Regions from separate parts of the Homo sapiens genome. Here regions 2, 3, 4, 5, 6 and 7 are each linked to region 1. Evidence: promoter capture Hi-C in 16 types of primary human blood cells and fetal thymus (Javierre and others, 2016). All regions are on one chromosome and are shown on one strand. The core of a region is centred on a gene start or on the middle of the fragment in contact, and the rest is flanking DNA. Distances in the headings are between cores, read along the strand shown.

What was found. The method cuts DNA at HindIII sites, captures the fragments that hold promoters and counts their contacts. A CHiCAGO score of 5 or more calls a contact.
Region 2: a fragment that was not itself captured here is called in contact with the fragment with the promoter of CASD1 in region 1 in 1 of 17 cell types (M2 macrophages); the score reaches 5.2 in M2 macrophages.
Region 3: a fragment that was not itself captured here is called in contact with the fragment with the promoter of CASD1 in region 1 in 2 of 17 cell types (naive CD8 T cells and M2 macrophages); the score reaches 12.7 in naive CD8 T cells.
Region 4: a contact is called between a fragment that was not itself captured here and the fragment with the promoter of CASD1 in region 1, in 3 of 17 cell types (naive CD8 T cells, fetal thymus and non-activated CD4 T cells). The highest score is 7.3, in naive CD8 T cells.
Region 5: a fragment that was not itself captured here is called in contact with the fragment with the promoter of CASD1 in region 1 in 5 of 17 cell types (total CD8 T cells, total CD4 T cells, total B cells and 2 more); the score reaches 8.6 in total CD8 T cells.
Region 6: a contact is called between a fragment that was not itself captured here and the fragment with the promoter of CASD1 in region 1, in 6 of 17 cell types (total CD8 T cells, fetal thymus, naive CD8 T cells and 3 more). The highest score is 7.0, in total CD8 T cells.
Region 7: a contact is called between a fragment that was not itself captured here and the fragment with the promoter of CASD1 in region 1, in 3 of 17 cell types (M0 macrophages, M1 macrophages and M2 macrophages). The highest score is 5.8, in M0 macrophages.

What each region holds. Positions count from the first base shown.
Region 1 is chr7:94,508,542-94,511,241 of GRCh38, forward strand. It overlaps CASD1 (CAS1 domain sialic acid O acetyltransferase 1), which reads left to right and starts at 1,268. Exons shown (of 18, transcript NM_022900.5): 1 at 1,268-1,676. The coding sequence starts at 1,544. RefSeq lists enhancers at 553-1,541, 1,542-2,528 and silencers at 1,062-1,281, 1,322-1,471, 1,572-1,931. The HindIII fragment of the contact is 8,005 bases long and covers 1-2,700 here.
Region 2 is chr7:95,405,294-95,407,993 of GRCh38, forward strand. It overlaps PON2 (paraoxonase 2), which reads right to left. Exons shown (of 9, transcript NM_000305.3): 7 at 1,694-1,775; 8 at 826-954; 9 at 1-195. The coding sequence ends at 37. All of the region lies in intron 1 of LOC107986822 (a long non-coding RNA gene), which reads left to right. Among named protein-coding and RNA genes, the nearest start is that of PON3, 10 kb to the left of the region's middle. The HindIII fragment of the contact is 1,111 bases long and covers 709-1,819 here.
Region 3 is chr7:95,424,047-95,426,746 of GRCh38, forward strand. PON2 (paraoxonase 2) reads right to left here. Exons shown (of 9, transcript NM_000305.3): 2 at 469-539. Among named protein-coding and RNA genes, the nearest start is that of PON2, 9.6 kb to the right of the region's middle. The HindIII fragment of the contact is 2,380 bases long and covers 118-2,497 here.
Region 4 is chr7:95,445,910-95,448,609 of GRCh38, forward strand. No RefSeq gene overlaps it. Among named protein-coding and RNA genes, the nearest start is that of PON2, 12 kb to the left of the region's middle. The HindIII fragment of the contact is 5,753 bases long and covers 1-2,700 here.
Region 5 is chr7:95,488,829-95,491,566 of GRCh38, forward strand. All of the region lies in intron 1 of ASB4 (ankyrin repeat and SOCS box containing 4), which reads left to right. Among named protein-coding and RNA genes, the nearest start is that of ASB4, 4.3 kb to the left of the region's middle. The HindIII fragment of the contact is 1,584 bases long and covers 670-2,253 here.
Region 6 is chr7:95,329,285-95,331,984 of GRCh38, forward strand. No RefSeq gene overlaps it. Among named protein-coding and RNA genes, the nearest start is that of PON1, 6.1 kb to the left of the region's middle. The HindIII fragment of the contact is 643 bases long and covers 1,018-1,660 here.
Region 7 is chr7:95,241,511-95,244,210 of GRCh38, forward strand. All of the region lies in intron 8 of PPP1R9A (protein phosphatase 1 regulatory subunit 9A), which reads left to right. Among named protein-coding and RNA genes, the nearest start is that of PPP1R9A-AS1, 29 kb to the left of the region's middle. The HindIII fragment of the contact is 1,282 bases long and covers 644-1,925 here.

The DNA.
Region 1 (2,700 bases), core at 18-2,517:
TTGTAAAGAATACTTGACAACACCCCAACTAAACAATGACTCACTCTAAACAAGGCAAGGCAAGTAGAATGGCAAGCAATGTAAATAACCATTCCCATCTGGAAGGCAACAAGAAAAACCATTTAAAAAAGGTGGGGTGGGAGCGAGAGGAGAGTAGGGATAACAATGCTTTATTAAGGAAATGGAGTGCTGGCTTTATTGAGAATCACAAAACATTAACCAACGTTAGTAGCGGGGATGATTGTCATAAGCACATTAAGAAAAATTTTTTTTGGCTAGGCTTGGTGGCTCATGCCTGTAATCCCAGCACTTTGGGAGGCCGAGATGGGCAGATCATTTGAGGTCAGGAGTTCGAGACCAGCCTGACCAAAATGGTGAAACCCCCGTCTCTATTAAAATACAAAAATTAAACGGGTGTGGTGGCGGGCGCCTGCAATCTCTGCTACTCGGCAGGCTCAGGCAGGACAACCATTTGAACCCAGGAGGGGGAGGCTGCAGTGAGCGAAGATCACGCCACTGCACTAGAGCTTGGGCGACAGGGTGAGACTCCCTCTCAAAAAAAACGAATTTTTTTGGCACATCGACCTAGCCAAACTTGCGTAAATACAAGTGAGAGTCAGACTCTTTTCTCATCAACACCTACACTAAGTTAGGCTCCTTCTGTACCTTCCATTCGGAACTTTGGTGTACTTTCGCCCACCAGAACTGGGCAAACTGAGGACATTAAAAAAACGGTTTAAGAGAAACTGGCCAGAGCGGTGAGTTAAGTGTTAAGACTGGTTTCACTCCTGGGTTGGATGCCAGCAATCCATCGGCCAGCACCATCAACTGGATCCATCAATCCAATCTGGCCAGCACCCAGGGGCAGCCAGACTGACCAGCCAGGCCACGGATAGCCAGACAATAAACGACCTTAGGGTGTCCTTCGCATCCCGCTGGGCGGGTTCTGGCAGTAGAAGGCTGAGAAAGGGGAGTGTTGGGGAAGGAAGGAATGGGACGATGTGTACTTTTCTCCCGGAACTGTAGTTCTATTGCCCCAACCTGGGCTCAGGTAGCGGCCAGTAAACTAGGAGACAGCCCTAAGGCTCGCGTCCGGGCCAGGCGGGTACCCCTAGTACTCTCTCCCCACACCCCCATGGCTCTGCCGCAGCCGCCGCCGCCCGCCGGGGCGCGTGACCCGGTGACCCCGGAGCACTGGGCATCCGGACCCCCCTCGCAGGCGCAGCCGCTATTAAGGCAGGAGGCTAAAGAGGAGGAGGAAGGGGAGGAGACAGGCGTCCAGGGCGCCTGGGGAACCGGCACGGCGGAGCAGCGGCGGCGGGGCTGGGGGGAGGCCGCCGAGTCGGCCGCGGCCGAGGAGGGGCAGGCGGAGGTCGGGGGCGCCGCGGCCGCGGGGTCAGGTTCCCCGGCGGGAGGCGCAGGTGGCGGCCTGGGGAGCTGGCGGCCGCTCCTCGCCTGGCTGCAGCGGCGGCAGCCCCAGTGCTGCCCCTGTGCGGCGCCCCTTTCCCGCTCCGCCGCGCACTGTTGTCATGGAGGAACCAAGATGGCGGCTCTGGCCTACAACCTGGGCAAGCGGGAGATCAACCACTACTTCAGCGTGAGGAGCGCCAAGGTGCTGGCGCTGGTGGCCGTGCTGCTGCTCGCAGCGTGCCACCTCGCCTCCCGCCGCTACCGAGGTGAGCGGGCCCTCCCCTCTGCCCGGGCAGGCCGTGGGGGAGGCGGCGACGCGGCGGCTGGAGGCCGCCCCCATCGCCCAACACACGCCCACGCGGCCTTCCGCCGGCCCGGCCCGCGGGGGAGGCGGTTCCCCCAGGTGTCCCCAGCAGCGGCCGGCGCCCGAGGCCAACTGAGTGGACCCCAGTGGGGGCCACCAAAGGACAATGGCTGGTGGTTCTGGGCGCCCCGAGCCGCCCGCGCTGGGGTCGGGGGCGCCAACCCTGGACCTGGCCAAAAGTGCTGCTGAGGTCCGGCTCCTGAGCGGTCTGGGTTCGGGGAGACGCTCCAGATCAGGGGCTCGCGTGCAGGAAGTCGGACAGGCGGTCCTTGGGGGCAGCCCGGGGCGCATGAAGCCCAAGGCCGCCCTGCAAGGGGCACCGCTGCCAGCAGTGGGGTCGCAGGTCCTGCCTCTTAAGGGTCCGGCTCCTTAGCCTTTGTTTAATTTTGCCTCTGCCCTGTAACACCCAGTCTGGGCTGTTGGACAGCGGCAAGGGCCGCCCCCATTTTCCTTTGCCAAAAGGGCGACAGCTGGCAAAAGATGCCTGTGGCCAAATGGAAGAGGTGCCACCCAGCTTTTGTGATGCAGAAACGTTTAAAGGCTTCGGAGTGCACACTTTTTACAAAGTTAAGGCACCAGAGCAGATTTTTGGAAGGAAGTTGTGGGTTGACAGGCGTAAAGGTGGGCAGTTGAAAGCAAGTTGTAAGCACTTTGAAAGCAGGCCTTGGCCATGGGTTTTGAAATTGGTGTAAAGGGGAAAAGGAAATATGACCTGATTTGAGAATGAATTATCTTTCAGTAATCAAGGGATATTTACTTCTCCTTGCTGATTGATTGTTTTTTTTCCTTTGTAAAAATGTCACTGGGAGAGAGGCTGACAGGCAGAGGGAAATTAATAATGATAGGATCTTTTATTTTTGGCTCTTAATACTATCAAAGCCATTATCTGGCCAGCTCTTGGTGACTGTGAGATTAATCAGTCAAGA
Region 2 (2,700 bases), core at 14-2,513, 900 kb after region 1:
TGTTAAGTTATCGCACTTTCATGCCAAAAGTACAATTTAGAGTTCACAATACAAGGCTCTGTGGTATAAAGTGCCTATGAGCAGCTTCCCATCATACACTGAGGCTACAGAACTTCCTTGGAGAACAGACCCATTGTTGGCATAAACTGTAGTCACTGTAGGCTTCTCAGATAGAATGTTCTGGATGCGGAGAACCTATTCAGGGGATACAAAGTATGAATATAAGACCACCGTACATGCATGTCACTCAATCATCAATAAGCCCTGTTTTCCACAATGACACACTGATTAAGGGGACATGCTGTTGAAAATAGCAGTTACCAATCTTTTTAATGTTTAAATTAAAGTACTTTCTCCAATCTTCAAAGAAAGTACTTTCTTAAAACCATCTAGTTATTCCATGCCAACACAGGATTTAGTGTTATTATAGCAATTCAGCTTTAATAGAAATACTTTCATACTAATGTGCCTACTTTCACACTACTTCAACATGAACAAATATCACATCATGTGGTGAGCTGACAATAAATCAGATATTTTAAAAATTGCCAGTATACCACCCAAGAAGGGCACATGTCTTTATAAAAATGCCTTTTGACTAGTTTCCACCATAATTTAATACATCAAAAGATTACCTTTCTTAAAGTATTTGAACAATGTAACATTCTGCCAATTATTGGCTTAACGCAATTACAAAACCACGACATAAGCTTATTATATTATTGCTTTAAAATAACTAAACAAATCATCCCTGTGACAATTTATTGTATTATTAGTTCAAAAGGACTTGAATAATTAAGTTTAAAAAACTGAAAATATAAAAACCTCTGACGAGGGAGGATTGTTCGGGTCATACACGAAGAGCTTCTGGCCATTAGGATGACAGCCTACCCAGATGTCCCCCGAGGAAGGATCAATAGATAAATTATCCACCAGTGTATCCAGCTCAAGTACCTTCCAAATGAGAAATTGTCAAAATCTAAATGACATGAGAAACTTGATTAAATAATTTAGAGGTAACCTTCCTGCCTCTATGCATGTGAGGAAATTACACATCGCCCTGCTTCCACCTTCTAACACCAATATTGCTTAAAAGGAATGTATTAAAAACTGGTTTGGAGCCACTTTTCTTCTTCCCTGAAATTAAGAAAGTTAGGGTGATAATCGGTCTCTGTAAAAATCTATCTTAAAAACTGAACTCCTTTTCCTTTAAAAGATGCACAATGATCAGTTAGCTCAAGGAACTCAATCAAAGCAAGATAGGAAATTCTTAATCAACCTAAAATATGTGTTGTTGAGTAGGAAGAAAATAATAATGGTGTGGAACCCAATTTCTACCTTCATGTATTATTGAAAGAACTGACACTGTGCATAAACCTTCATTTGAGAATTCATCTATTAGTATTTTCAATTGTGAAAATTCTTATTGGAATTCTTCCACTGCCATCAATACTTCATGGAATGGGCCCTAAATCTGATGAATATCACTCTCAACCTGCTGCTGCATGTAATCATGGTCAGTTCTTGAGATCGCTGGAAACAGGAGCTTTCTCTAGTTGTAGGGAGTATTTAAAAACCCAGAATAGCTACACTGGCATCCATATTTTGTTCTACGTGTGGTACTCTTATAGAAAAACTATGTCATTGCAAAGCATAATAGATTACTGTCTATATGTAAAAATAAATATTTTACCTTCAACTGAGTTAAATTCATATTAGTGTGTTTTTCCAAAACATGAATTTCATGAGCCAATATGTCAGCAACATAGATATACCTTTGCAGAAAGGACACAGTGGTTAGAGCTCCATGCCAATATAAAGCTTCATTAATACAGTGTGAAAGAATAAGTCTTAATAACCTGCCAAGAAGTTAATCAATCATGGGCCCTCAAGGAATGCTTGATAAAGGTCAATTTTTATTTAAAAAGTAAGCTTTCAGAATCAATTCAGTGGTGCTACAACAATCATGGAATTATTAAATTGTTTTTCAAAAAGCTTGTAAGGAAAAATAATATAGAACATCATTTTGAATATGAAGTCCATATTTGCCACTGAAATGACAATAAAACAAATGCTTGGCTTCAGAAGAAAAGCTTTTACATTCCACAATATAATTTGATACTTCTAATTATCATGTACATATAGAAATATATGGTAAAGAACATCTTATTAAAATAGTGATCATTCCTTAATATTCAATAAAATATTTATTAATACATAGCGAATTTTAAGAGTAAGAGATAAGTATCAATGCAGAATAATCTGTCTACTTCAAAGGTGAGTGAATTAACAGACTATTTTGAGGTAATTTTACTCATTGAATTGACTTTCCATGGCACCTGCTCTGTTGAGCAATTATGTGTGAAAAGCCATGAACTCAGTGTTGCAGCAGATATAAACATGAAGAAGACACAGCCTCTCTCCTTGAAAGTTTATAGTGTGTTGGAACAAATCTCACTGGTTTGTACACATTAAACACCTAATAAGCATGAGAAATAGTTCAGGTCTAGAAATAGCTAACTTCCGAGGACACAGAAAGGCTCACCAAGGAAGGGGCATCTGCAGTGGCTGTGTAAAGAGAGATGAGATTTGAGATGAGGACGGAGGAGGCACTTCCCAGGCAGAAGCAAGCACAAGAGCAGAATCACAGGAGCAAGAAGAGGAAGGAATGTTTAAAACAATGAGTTCTTTGTCTAAAGC
Region 3 (2,700 bases), core at 58-2,557, 920 kb after region 1:
AGATGAGATTCGGGTGGGGACACAACCAAACCATATTGGTCAGTTACGTGTTAGCCATAAGATCAGATCCTAGTTATAGAGTAGTGAGCAGGGTAAATGCTGTCACTGCCTACATAAAGCTTCCTTCACTAGCTGACCACAAGGCTCACAGAACACAGACTGCAGCGGCCATACCTGACAAACAATACAGACGCAACAAAAATAGTTCAGAGAAGTCACAAAACAAGCAAGAAATCAAATGCTAAACATAGAATTACACACAAAAAAGAATAATTTACAGTGAGGGTAGGAAAGAAGAATAAATACAGGGTTCATCAGATCAAGAGGTTGACCAAAGAGGTTTTTGTTGATCTAATGTGATTTATCCACTGAAAAGCAGTAATTTCATGCTAAAATGCCATTAATGAGTGTTTTAATGTTAATGGCCAAAAAATGCAATGTGCCCAACAAGCATTTTCATATACATACCAATTCCTTTAATCAGGTGGCAGTGTGGAAGGTCTACAGATTCTACTTCTCTGGAGGCTTTAAGTCGATTTCTGTTACAAAGAAAAAAAAACAAAAAACAAAAAACTATTTGTTTATGTATTCCCTGCTTTGTTTTAGAAAGGGTTTAAAGAGGCTTACAGCAATACATAAAACACAGTTTAAGTCTAAAGCAGATGAAAGAGAAAATAGAAAGACAAGGGTAGGAAAATAAAACTGCACCAGAAATGAAGTTAAAACAAAAATGCCTATTGCAAAGTTCTATATACTGATGTGGGTTATTAAAAAAAAAAAGCCAATAACTCAACAAATAAAACTTATAATGCAAGTTCCTATGCAAATGTAAACACAGCACCATGTCACATTTCTCAGTGTTGGTGTTGTGGGAAAAGAGTTCCAGATGTAGAACCAGTAGCCCTGTCTTCCTTCTGAAGAGTCAAACGTGAAAAATGACTGTAAGCCTCACACAGAGACTGCAAAGAAGCCAAGAGAAAATGGCATTGCTCAGAGCCTGACACACCAAAGACATCCCACAAATAGTTACTAACAAAAAAGAAAAGAAGGTAGCATCCCTATGACAGTATTTTTTTAAATAAGAATGTATTTATCTTATTTCAATAGCTTTTGGGGGTACATGTGGTTTTTGGTTACATGGATGAGTGATATAGCAGTGAATTCTGAGATTTTAGTGTACCCATCCATGACAGTATGTATTGGAATAGGAAGGTTGGAGAACACCAACTAGTTCTGTAACTACTTCAGCAAAACTATTTGCTGTTGTATACCCAGAAAATTAAAAGAAGGAAATAATAAGAGAATGTTGAACTCTAATAGGATGTCTTCCCCCTCCCTCTCCACTCTAGAGGGCCAGGAAGCAGTTTGGGACAATATCTGTGGGATCTTTTGTTTTGAAGGCCACATACTATTGGCTTTCCCTTCTCTCTCACATTTTTCACCTTCTCTGTTCTCTAGAGCCATAAATAATAAAAATAGCACCTTGTAGAAACTTTACATTTTTCAGTGGTTCCCACATACCATACATTTAAGAGACGAAATAGCTATTTGCCATGTGTCCTTCTCCTGTGCATATTCCTGACAGCTTCTGAGGTCTAGACACTGGGGAAGGCTTCTGGAGTATGGGGCAGGCTACCAGTTTCTTCTAGATAACCCAGAATGACTCATAGGTTGTACCAACTACACATTTTGGCAATTCATATCAGACATAAAGTTTCTAATTAAAATGTTAATCAGTATGTATTTGAAATCATGTAACTCAAATAATGTTAAATTTTTTGAAACAATATAGCAATAAGGCAAAAAGTACAAATAAATCAATATTTAAATATAATAAAAAATAATGCATTAAATGTATTAAATAATACAAATTTTTAAATAAGGCATTAAAAAATACAATAAATCTCATGGCCTACGTGTCACAGAAGTGATTTAAGAGAGGAAAAATAAGCTAGAAAACCAAATACTGCATGTTCTCACTTTAACTGGGAGCTAAACAATGGTGCACATGGACATAAAGATGACGATGGTAGACACTGGGGACTACTAGAAGGGGAAGGGAAGGGAGTAGACAAGGGCTGAAAAACTATAGGGTACTATACTCACTACCTGGGTGATGGCATCAGTTGTTCCCCAAACCTCAGCATCAGACAATATACCCATGTAAAACCTGCACATGTACCCCTTGAATCTAAAATAAAATTGAAATTATAAAACAGAGAGAGAAAAAAAAAGTTTATGTAGCCTAATGTGGTAGTAATCTTAATTGTGATGATGAGGATGACACTGATGATAATTGTGGGTGGTCAAAGGAAATAAATAATAAAAAAGTATAATTTACCGCTGTTCTAAGTGATTTACCTCCATGCATTCATTTAATTCTTCAAACAACCCTGTAAATTAGGTAGCATTATTCCAGTTTAAAAGATGAGAAAACTGAATCAGACAAAACAATTTTCCCACGGCGCAACTTAGCCAGAAGTGCTGGAAGCAGGGAAGCTTTTGCTTTAAACTACTTTGTACTTTTCTCAGAAAGAAGTAAAGGGATCTGTGTTCTTGTCTCAGCAGTGAAACTGCCATGACCCTTGGCAGGTCAGTTAATCTCTATAGGTGTCAGTCTTCTTTATGGATAAAATAAGGATGAGCCTAAAACACCTCCAAGATTCTACAAATGTTATATGACTCCAGAAACAGATGTAG
Region 4 (2,700 bases), core at 123-2,622, 940 kb after region 1:
TAACAAAATTTTTTGAGTACTTAAATAACTCATATATCAAATAAATTGATTCTTTTCTTTTTTTTAAACAAGGTCTTTCTCTCTGTTGCCCAGGCTGAAGTACAGTGGTGCAATCATGGTTCACTGTAGCCTCGACTTCCTGAGCTCAAAAAATCAAGTAGTCCTCCCACCTCAGTCTCCCGAGTAGGTGGGACTACAGGCATGTGTCACCAGGCCTGGCTAATTTTTTTATATTTGTAGAGACGAGGTCTCACTATATTGCCCAGGCTGGTCTGGAACTCCTGGGATCAAGTCATTCTCTTATCTTAACCTCCCAATGTGCTGAGATTACAGGTATGAGCCTCCAAGCCTGGCCAAAGAGGTGATTCTTAAGTTTTCTTAATGTTCCGCTCCATTAATGTTTATAAAGAAATGATACTAAATTAAACTCACAAGTCTAAATAAATTACTTAATAATACATTTAAAATTAGAATCACAAGACTGTTGTTCAAATAAGCTATTCTTCTACTAGACCAAATCTAAATTATTACAGGTATATAGACAATAAATATGTGTAAAATTCTTAATACTAAATTGTTGATAATACAGATTTATCTTGACATTTATATACTTAATTTCAAATATTCTTGGGGTTGAAAAATGCTTACCTACTAAAGAAAACTTACGTTATCTCACATGATTTTTGAGCTTATTTTGCTATATAATTTTGAGGTTGCTTTCTTTGCTTGATGGTGTTTCCTAGCAAACAGAGGATATAAACTGTTATATGAGTGAACCACTGTGACCATGATGATATGCACCAATCTCAAGAGTGAGCTAGCCACATACCTATCTTACATCCCTGGATTTTAGCCATATCATCACTGCATTGGGTTATCTAGAGAAACAGAAGTAACAGAGTATTTATACATAGAAAGAGAGGTTTATTTTGAAGACCTTGCTCATGCAATTACAGAGGCTTTGTAAGTCCGAAATCTGCAAGGAAGGCTTGCACGCTGGCGACTCAGGGAAGAGGTACTGTCTCAATCTAAAGGCAGTCTACTATCAGCATTCCTTCTCCCTTGGGAAAGGTCAGTCTTTGTTCTATTAAGACCTTCAGTTGATTGGATGAGGCCTACCTACATTATGAAGAGTAATTTGCTTTACGTAAACTCCACGAATTTCAGTGTTAATCTTATCCAAAAAACGCCTTCACAGAAACATCCAGAATAACATTTGACCAACTATCTGAGCATACTGGCCTAACCAAGTTGACATATAAAATTGATCATTACAGTTACTCATAATTTAAATCAGATTAGAATGTGAACTCCTCACCCAGTTGGCAACATCACTTGATTAAATTTTGTGTTTCTATGGCTAAAATAAGAAAATCTGGCCAGGAGCAGTGGCTCACACCTATAATGCCAGTGCATGGGAGGCCAAGGTAGGAGGATCACTAAAGTTCAGAAGTTTGAGAACAGCCTGGGCAACACAGGAAACGCCATCTCTACAAATAATTTAAAAATTAGCTGGGTATGGTGGTGCACACCTGCAGTCCCAGCTACTCAGGAGGCCAAGGTAGGAAGATTGCTTGGACCTTGGGAGGTGGAGGCTGCAGTGAGCCATGATTGTACCACTGCACATTAGCCTGGGTGACAGAGTGAGACCCTGTTTCAAAAAAAAATTTTAAGTAAATGTATTTCCATGTAACCATTAAGACTTTTGAACTTGCATAAAACCTACCTGAACTCTTTTATTATACTGTCTATCAATACTGTCTATCATTAAGACCATATAAAACTGTTACAAATATTTAAGTATTATCTCTGAGCAGGTGGTCACGTATGCATACTATCCTTGTTGGTTCTAATTCTTTATTAGTACTTTATTCTTTGATGCATAATAGTACTTTGTTTGTACTTAATAGTACAAAGTACTTTAATAGTACTTTAAAATACTAATACTAAGTGTTAAAACGTATTTGGTAATTTACTTAATGGTACAAAGTACTTTAATGGTACTTTGTTCTTTGATTAAATAGTATTATTAAAGTACTTTATTAATATAATATATAAATATAATAAAGTATTAATAGTACTTTATTTTTTGATGCATAATAGTTCATTGAATGGGTGTACCATAGTTTGTTTTACTGATAAAATATTATAGATGTATCTTATAGTTTACATTCTTATATGAATAGTCATTCAGATTGTTTCTAATTTTTGCTACCATAAATAATTCTTCAATAAATAATCCTGGATGTGGTTTCTTATACAACAGTACAGGTGTTTCTATAGAATAAATGCTTAGAATTAGATTTGCTGGGGTGCACATATTAATTTTAATCAATGACTATACTGCCAATTGCCCTCCAGAGTAGTTATACTAATTTAATACATAAGCAATATGAAAATACCTCTTCCCCTCATTCTTACCAGTAGATATAATTTAAAAATTTTATATTTTGCCAGACTTGCATTAAAAAAGAGTATTTTATTTTCCTTTTTATTTGCATTCTTCTGAATTCTTGTGAAGCTAAGTAACTTTTTGGATATTCATTTGCCATTTATAATTCTGCAATTGGCTTTCTTATATATTCTTATATATTATATATTCTGCAATTGGCTTTCTTATATAGAAACAGATATATATATATCTGTTTCTGGAATCTTTATCCTTTTGTGTATTGAGCTGTTTTACTTATCGTATCAATA
Region 5 (2,738 bases), core at 212-2,711, 980 kb after region 1:
GTTTACTTTTAAAGTGTGGGAATCTTCAGGTTTCAGTTATTTTTGGCTTAATAAGAAAGACAATGCACAAAACCTATAACGAATCTCATGCTACTCTTAAATTTCCTTGTGTAATCAATACTAAAATTCTATATTCAACATTTGATAGTCCTATAGAAAGTGAAAAGTAGTACAATCAATTCTAAACCATTCTTATTTATTTAGAACATACAGCATTTTTATAGGATTTAAGAAGTAACTAAATTTTATCCCTAAATATAGTCCATCTAAGCCTATATGAAAGTCAGTGTATAATTTTTGAAAAGGGAACTCAGAACTCTGCTGGCAAATAAATCACCTAAAATCTAAATAGTGCTTCCCAAATTTACAATCTACTGGGCACACCAGTAATCAAAAGTTTAGCTCATAAGCAAATATGAAATGTGTATTTTGTGAGGAAGACAGAATAAAGCTATTGGATTACAAATAAGTCTGGAAGCTCATTTCTGCTTTCCTCTGTAGCACTGGGCCCATCTCATTGAATAGCTTCTCTTACCAATTTGGCAGAGAACAGATTTAGAAGCCAGCCTCCAGAGTTCATGTTCAAACTGTGGATCCTGTCTTTCTCCAGCACCTAATCATGATTCTTAAAGTTAGAGAGCTCTCACTTTACTTTTCTAAGTTATTTTAAGCTTCATAATAAAATCTGCAGATGAAATCATGTTTTATTAATTTAAAGAAACTTTTCTCACATTTTGTAAAGCAAACATTTAAAATGTGCTGGTTGGCATTTGAGAGACCTCCCTGGGAATGGCGGAGATAATGGGTCTTAAAAGCAAAAACAAGTAAGCCAAAATTGCGTTTACCAGATGATCACTTTAAAATAAAAACGATATAAAGAAAACATAAAGAATGACTTTCTAACTGCCAAATGCAATAAGTCATTGAAAGTCAAGGGATGTCAGTGATATAACATTAATTATGAGCCAACCACTGAGTATTTAGAGTGAAGTCAAGCACAGAAGAAATCTTTAAAGAAAACACAAATGTCCCTTCTATTGGTTTTCACTGGTTACTTCCATACTGGAAAGACGAAGGACTGTCCATAAAACTGTTTCCAAAGGCTTTACCAACTTGATCTTCCTTCAGATGTATGAGCTTTTGCTCATAAATGATACAGGCAGAATTTCATACTTATCTCTTTGGTATGAAATTCCCTAGTCAGCAAGGTTAATCAGAGTCCTTTTATTAATCAGGGTAATGCACTTTAAGTACTTCGTTTATGGCCCATAGCCACTGATTCCTTGGTTGGTAGTCATATTTTTAATTAAAATAACCAATGAATGATTTCACTTAAAAAACTTTCTGGCAGGTACTCTGTTTCCTTTACTAAGTAGCAACTTATATCCCAATATTGTGAAAGCTCTTATTTCCACTCTCTGAATGAATAATTTCTTTATCACCTAATTTTCCTCTTTGCCAGAAATTCACTCTCCTGCTTTCCCATTTCCATCCTAGGGTTCTTTTCCTTTCTTCGATGTTCAAACTTTTTTCTTTTACATTTTACACTTCAAACTTGCTTTTATCCCCCCTTCCCAGGGGAACTTTGAGTTATCTGGAAAATATTAGCTATTAAAAAATAGCCAAGAATTGTGCTTCAGTCTGTAATCCTTCAGGACTGTGTAAATACATGGACACAGGCAGAGCAAATGTCTGCTAATCCAGCCACGAGCAGTGTGTGTAACCTTTGGCTGTAATAACAGAGGCTTCTCATGTGTGGGGTTCTTTTGACTCAGATAACATTATAGTTGATAACTGTTGCAGAGCCCAGGCTTAGCTGAAGGTTTACCAGAAATGTGTACATCCTCTCCAAACGCTGGAGCAGAACCAATCCCCTCTTCCAAAAGAAGGCCCAAACACTTTGCTCCTTGCTATATTTCTAGGCAGCTTTCTACCCAGCTATTGGGGCATATCTCTTTGGTTTCAGATTTAAATTAAACACACACGCGCACGCGTGCACACACACACGATTAGTCTGCATATTTTCTTTTCAGGGATAAAACTTCTCAAATTCCTTTAGAACTTTTAGCTACAAGTGATATCAGTTTGGAGGTAAACTGCATGTAGCCTTCGGATCATAGACGGCTATTTAAAGATTTGGGGGCAATGGAGTTTGAGAGTTAGAGTTGATTCTGTGGGTACTTGTTATATGAACATGGACACTTTATACTACTTAACCTCTTCCAGACTAATTATCTTCATTTGTAAAATGGAAGCTTTGACAAGACCCTCTCTAAGTTCAGATTCTGGCATGCAGATAATTAATCACATTATGAAGGTGAAACTATGTAAACAGATTATGTATCATGGTCAAAGCCACATGGGCATGGCCTGTATTTGGGAGTTCCTGTGGGTTTTGTACACAGGGGAAATAATCTCTATTTTTCTTTTCTTCTTAGTGGAGCTTCTTATTCAAACAGAACTCTTCTGCAAGGAGCTGTCACTGCACACAGACTCTAGACATGGGGTAGCGTGTGAGTGGTTTACATTAGAGGGAGGCAGCCGCTGCTTCACCTCCCACCCCTAGCTCCCATGGGCTTGGTTCCCCGGTTCTCCCTCACCTCTGTCCTTTGTGAAGTCTAAACACATAGTAAAAGGGCAGCCTGAAGTCTGCAGAGGTGAGCAGAGGGGGGCTTTTGAAAGACAAATACTAGGAATAAATCACATTCTAGGTTTCGAAGCCCTGGAAAAATTTTGCT
Region 6 (2,700 bases), core at 89-2,588, 820 kb after region 1:
TGGCCAGGACTGTGATCTCATTTTAACAAGCCAGATGGAAGTCACCATCTCTTTGTAACCTAATTTTCAAAGTGACATATCATTTTTTCCATGTTGTATTCATTCTGTTCTCTCAAGGTGAAGGAATTACACGAGGGTATGAATACTAGTCCCCATTCTTAACATGATCAAATCCTACCTGCTCCTTCAGGCACCTGTTTGCAATTTATTTCTACTAGTTTTTCCTGATGTCTAAATCTTGGATACCATTCTCATATGTCTCATTGCACCATGCTGCTTCTTTATTATTCCTGCCACTCTGTATTGTTAATACTTTATCACGGTACTGTTTTTCTCACTAGACCAGAAGCCTGTATAAAAATGCCTTGCTTGTTGTTATAGCTCTAACGCCTGGTACAGCACCTAACAAAATCTAGGTGCTCAATAAATATTGTTGAATACATGAATGAATGAATGAATGTTTAAAAGTTATTACAGAATCCTCTGGAATACTTTAATGTTCCATATTTTATTTACTGTAATGCCATCAGTGTTAAATACATAACTATCTATTATTCTTTTATTTTATGTACTACTAAAAAAGAAAAACTATAATTAATCTACAACACAATTCTAAGAAACTATTAATTATACAATAATTTCCTATTTCACACATGTTAAAATGTGCAGACAAGAGTATGAGTCCATGCTATGTGAAGATTTTAAATGTTATGAGAAGTTATGAAGGTGTTTTAAACTTAGAATTTTTTTATCACCAGAAATGTATAACCAAACATTTAAAAAGCAAACTTCTTTAAAAACTCAGATCTCACCTTGACTATTAGAATCCCTTTCCTTTCCTCCCTTGATCCTCATGTGCTAAGTATTTATTTGCACATGTTCAAATACTTCTTCCTAAATATATTTGGTAACAATCACATCAACCCATTCTTTTATTTTCCCACAAAAAGCCTAATTCACGGAGTAGTCAGTAAAAACTGTCAATGAATTGGTAGAAAGCCAGAGCCAAGTTTGCCAAGCTTAATTTTGTAGAAGTGCAAAAGGATTGATTGGGTAACTATACCACTTGGTGTTGTTCATCTGCAGAGGATGCTGAGCCCTGTTGGCAGTTGTTGCAATGTTCTCAAGTTTCTGAAAGTGTGAAATTCCAATGTTCTAAGAATGCCAATAATACCATTCTGCATGAGGCAGCTATAGTAAAGCTGGAAGAAAAAAAAACCCAAAAACCCTGGGCTTTAAATACTAAATTCATGGTCACTTCCTGAAAATTCTATAGTAGCAGAAATAACATCTGTAAAATGGAGATAATTCCTGTGGGTTTGCTGTATTAAATTTTTAAAAACCTGTGAAAGCACTATGCAGATATAAAGCAATGGCAGTGCAAAGTACAAGGTACTATCCAAGTCTGGAAGTTAGTTTACAAAATGCTTTTACCTTACATTCTCTCACAAGACCCTGGACAAGGAGATAGGATCAATACGATTATCCCCATTCATACAAAGTCATCCAATTAGGAAGTGTAGGAGCCCTAAGTTTGTATGTCTAGATATGGGCAAACCAAAACTGACGTGCACCTAAAAACAGAAACTGAAAGTACGAAAAGGGAAAGCTAACAGAACTATGTCACTTCACTTCAATTGTCTAAGCACACATCTCAAAAAGCTTAAAAATCCAAAGAAAGGAGAAGGATGGAAATGAAGATAAAATCAGCAATCAATGAAATAAAAAACAAACTTGAAGAGAGACTATCCATTGTATGAAGTGTCATTCAGTTATAAAAAAAGAATAAAGTCCTAATACATGCCACAACATAGATGCACCTTGAAATCATTATGCTAAGTGAAAGAAGCCAAACACAAAAGGCAGCATATTATAGGATTCCATTTACATGAAATAGCCAGAAAAGGCAAATCCATAAAGACAGAAAGCAGATTAGTAGTTGTCAGGAACTGCAGGGGAGAGGAGGATGGGGAATAACTACTTAATGCACATAGGTTTCCTTCTGAGATGGTGAAAAATATTCTGGCGCAAGATCATGGTGATGGTTGAACAATATTGTGAACATACTTAATGCCATTGAATTGTATGTCATTGAATGGTTAAATGATGAATTTTATACTATGTGAAATTTACTACAATAAAAACTTAGGACAAAACATTCAAAAGTTGATTATTGAAAAGACTAATGAAAGATATAAAACTGTGGTAAGACTGACAGAAAGAAAATGAGAAAGAAAACAAATTCTAAATGTGAGAAATAAAGAGGATATTACCGCAGATCCTAAATATGTAACAAAAGGATATTATGAACTACTTTATTCCACTAAATCTGCAAATTTAAATGAAAAGAATGAATTGCTAAATTTATCAAAGCATACACAAGCAGAAACATTTAATTGTAATATTTCTATATTCTTTAAATAAATGTAATCTATACTTTAAAATCCCCCTTAAAGAAATCTTTAGTCCCAGGTAGCTTCATAAGTGAATTATTCCAAACACTTAAGGAAGAAAAAATGCTAAATTTTACACTAACTTTTGGAGAATAAAAAAAGAAGAAATAACTCTCAAGTCTTTCACCAGGTGAATATAACCTTGATACTAAAACCTGACAATTAATTACAAAAAAGGGAAATTAAAATTACAGGCCAATCTTTATTATGAACATGGACATTAATATCTTAAAATATTAGTCAAGTA
Region 7 (2,700 bases), core at 35-2,534, 730 kb after region 1:
TTTGATTGTGAGTTTTTTTGTTTTTAATGTGATTACACTGGCAGTTTAATGGAAGGTACGGCGAGGCTGGCTCAGGAACTGTTAGCCAGGTACCATTTAAAGTGACTGTCCAATTTCTCCCTTGCCATTCCTCCTCAGGAGTCACAGCAATTGCAACAATTAAAAAAATTCGACATTTCTCTTGAAGAAAAAATGGAGTCTAAAAGTTGGTTTATTTTATTTATTTAATTCTATGAAAAAGAATCTAGAAAAGTTATAAAATGCATGGGATAATAACATTAAGTTATCTTTATGGAAGTTTCCACTACCATGTAGGGAAGCTATAAATTGCTGCCTACTTAATAGCAAACAGTTACTTATTTAAAAAAGAGCTGTAATTACAGGCCATCAACTACATCCAGCAGCAGCATCATTAATAACAAGTTTATGAGTACCTACTTAGGGAGTGACCTTGTTAGAGAATCTCACCCAATGCTACATATGCTGCCATTAGTGTTACCATTCAGATTAGATTGTGATATTGTTCAGTCAGCCAGTTTTAGTTCATTTTGCATACATGATTCCCTAAGTAAAACACTTTCGTTAATACTGGATAGATACCATATGTAAACTTTTCAGCAGAAATTACAAAGAAATATGGCAAAGCTTCATCTTAACACCAAAATGTAGTTAAAAACAGCTTTGATTTCTTTTGTGAAGCTATATTGTTGTAGGTAAGACATACATCACTCAAATACTCACAAAGATAACTAAAAATTTAGATCCCAATCTAGAAAGCACTTTATAAAGTTCTATGCAAATATTAGTTATTGATTTGCTTTTGTAAAGCAACAGCAGAAAATGTTGCCCTTATCTGATTGTAATATTTCTAGAACTAGAGCTCTCTTAAAACATTTCCTGCAAAGATATTTTTCACTTTTTAAAGAAAAATGTTTCCATGCTCTCACAGGATAAGTAGAGAGAGGGCAAAAGTTCAGTCTCACTATTTAAGTTTCTGTGTAAAGGATGTTTCTATTTCTAGCACAGTTATATTTGGATTATATCGATCCGGTAATATGAGTGCATGTTCTGTATTCATCTTTTTGAAAAAAAAATTATACACAGCAGGTACACCTTCAGAATGTTAAATGAAAGCTCCTGTTCTCATAGGAATGTGTATGTTTATTTGTGCTGAAATCCTGAGGTGCATATCTATGGCTTTCATATTAAAGATGACTGAAGAGATGAAAATGATGGTCTTGTAAGTTAAAAGACTTTTACCTGCAGTCCTTAACCTTTTCTTTTTATTTATGCCCTCCTAATCCCAACTCTTTTCTCCAAACCTAGCTTCTCTGAAGCCCAAAAACTCCAACAGGCATCTCAGGCTCTATTTCTATTAACCAGCCCTGTTAACCTTCTATCCCTGCAGTCAGCGTGCCTGACCATTCTTGCAAACTCTTGGACCTGTACTTTGAAAAGGTTATTGATTCTTGACATAAATCTCTTAAACATGTGGAAAGGGAACTGCTCTAGAATAAGAAAACTCAACCTTTTACCAACTATGCTTCATTTGTCGAGGTCCTTCACCCCTGTGAAAAGCAATTTTCTTTTCCTCATGAAATGGAGATAACTTGGGTCCATCTTGCTCACTTTGCTTGGAAAGTAGGGTCCACGTCTGGACAAACAGGCCAAAGACACATGACATCTGATCTGGCTATAGGAACAAAAGACTAAACAAGCCATCCAGCAGCAGGTTGCCTCTGACCTTTCTCACAGGGTGATCTGGAGAATTCTTACAAGGTGTTTTTATTAATCTCCCTGAAGTATCTTGAAAGTAGATTCTATGTCATGTTCATGTATCCTCAGTGATTAGCATAGTACCTAGCACGTAGTCTCAGTCACTAAAGGCCAATTGATTATTAAGGGAGGTGGAGGTCTGCTTTCTAAGCTTCATTAATAATAACAGCAGCTGATTGAGCACCATTTTGCATTCACTGTCAGAATGCTCAGAGACTACCAGAAGTGATCCATGGTTTCCAGTTGGAGTAATAACTTCTCATCTGAGAGGTTATGATGATGACATATGGCTTGGGGTTTGGGGGAAGATTAAATGAAAAATATATCCCAAAGCAACTGGTTCAGTTAGATACATGGTTAAGGGAGGAACAGAGGTAGGAAGAGTCAAATCTGGTTTTGTTTCCGCTCCATCACCTGTTTCTAGTGGGAACTTGAAAAGGTGTGTGACTTCCCTGAGCCTCTTTCCTCATCTGAACCATGAGGTTCACAACACCTGCCCTGCCTCCCCCAGTCATTTGCAATGATAAAGGGAGATGATTAAAAATAAAGGGGCCTACAAATGTAAGAAATTTAGTATTAGTGGAAAGAACCATGGGCTGGGATTTCTAAAACCTGGCTTTGGCACCTAATAGCCTTCCAAGGTAAGCTCACTAGACACAGGTCCATACTATATAAAACAAAAAGGGTTCAGTTAGTGTATTTTGATGCTTTTCTTGTCAAAAGTGATGGATTTGTAGAAATTCTCTTAATGTACATACAGAATTAAAATAATCGCATATTTTTAATTTTAGGCCTCATGTGTACTAAGAAAATCTTGTCCATTCTGAATAATGTGAATTTACACAATTCATTCTGCTTTCCTATATGTAAAGAATTTAGCTATACTTAGTAACACTCCAAACTTTGCGCAGTTGTTCTCACCTC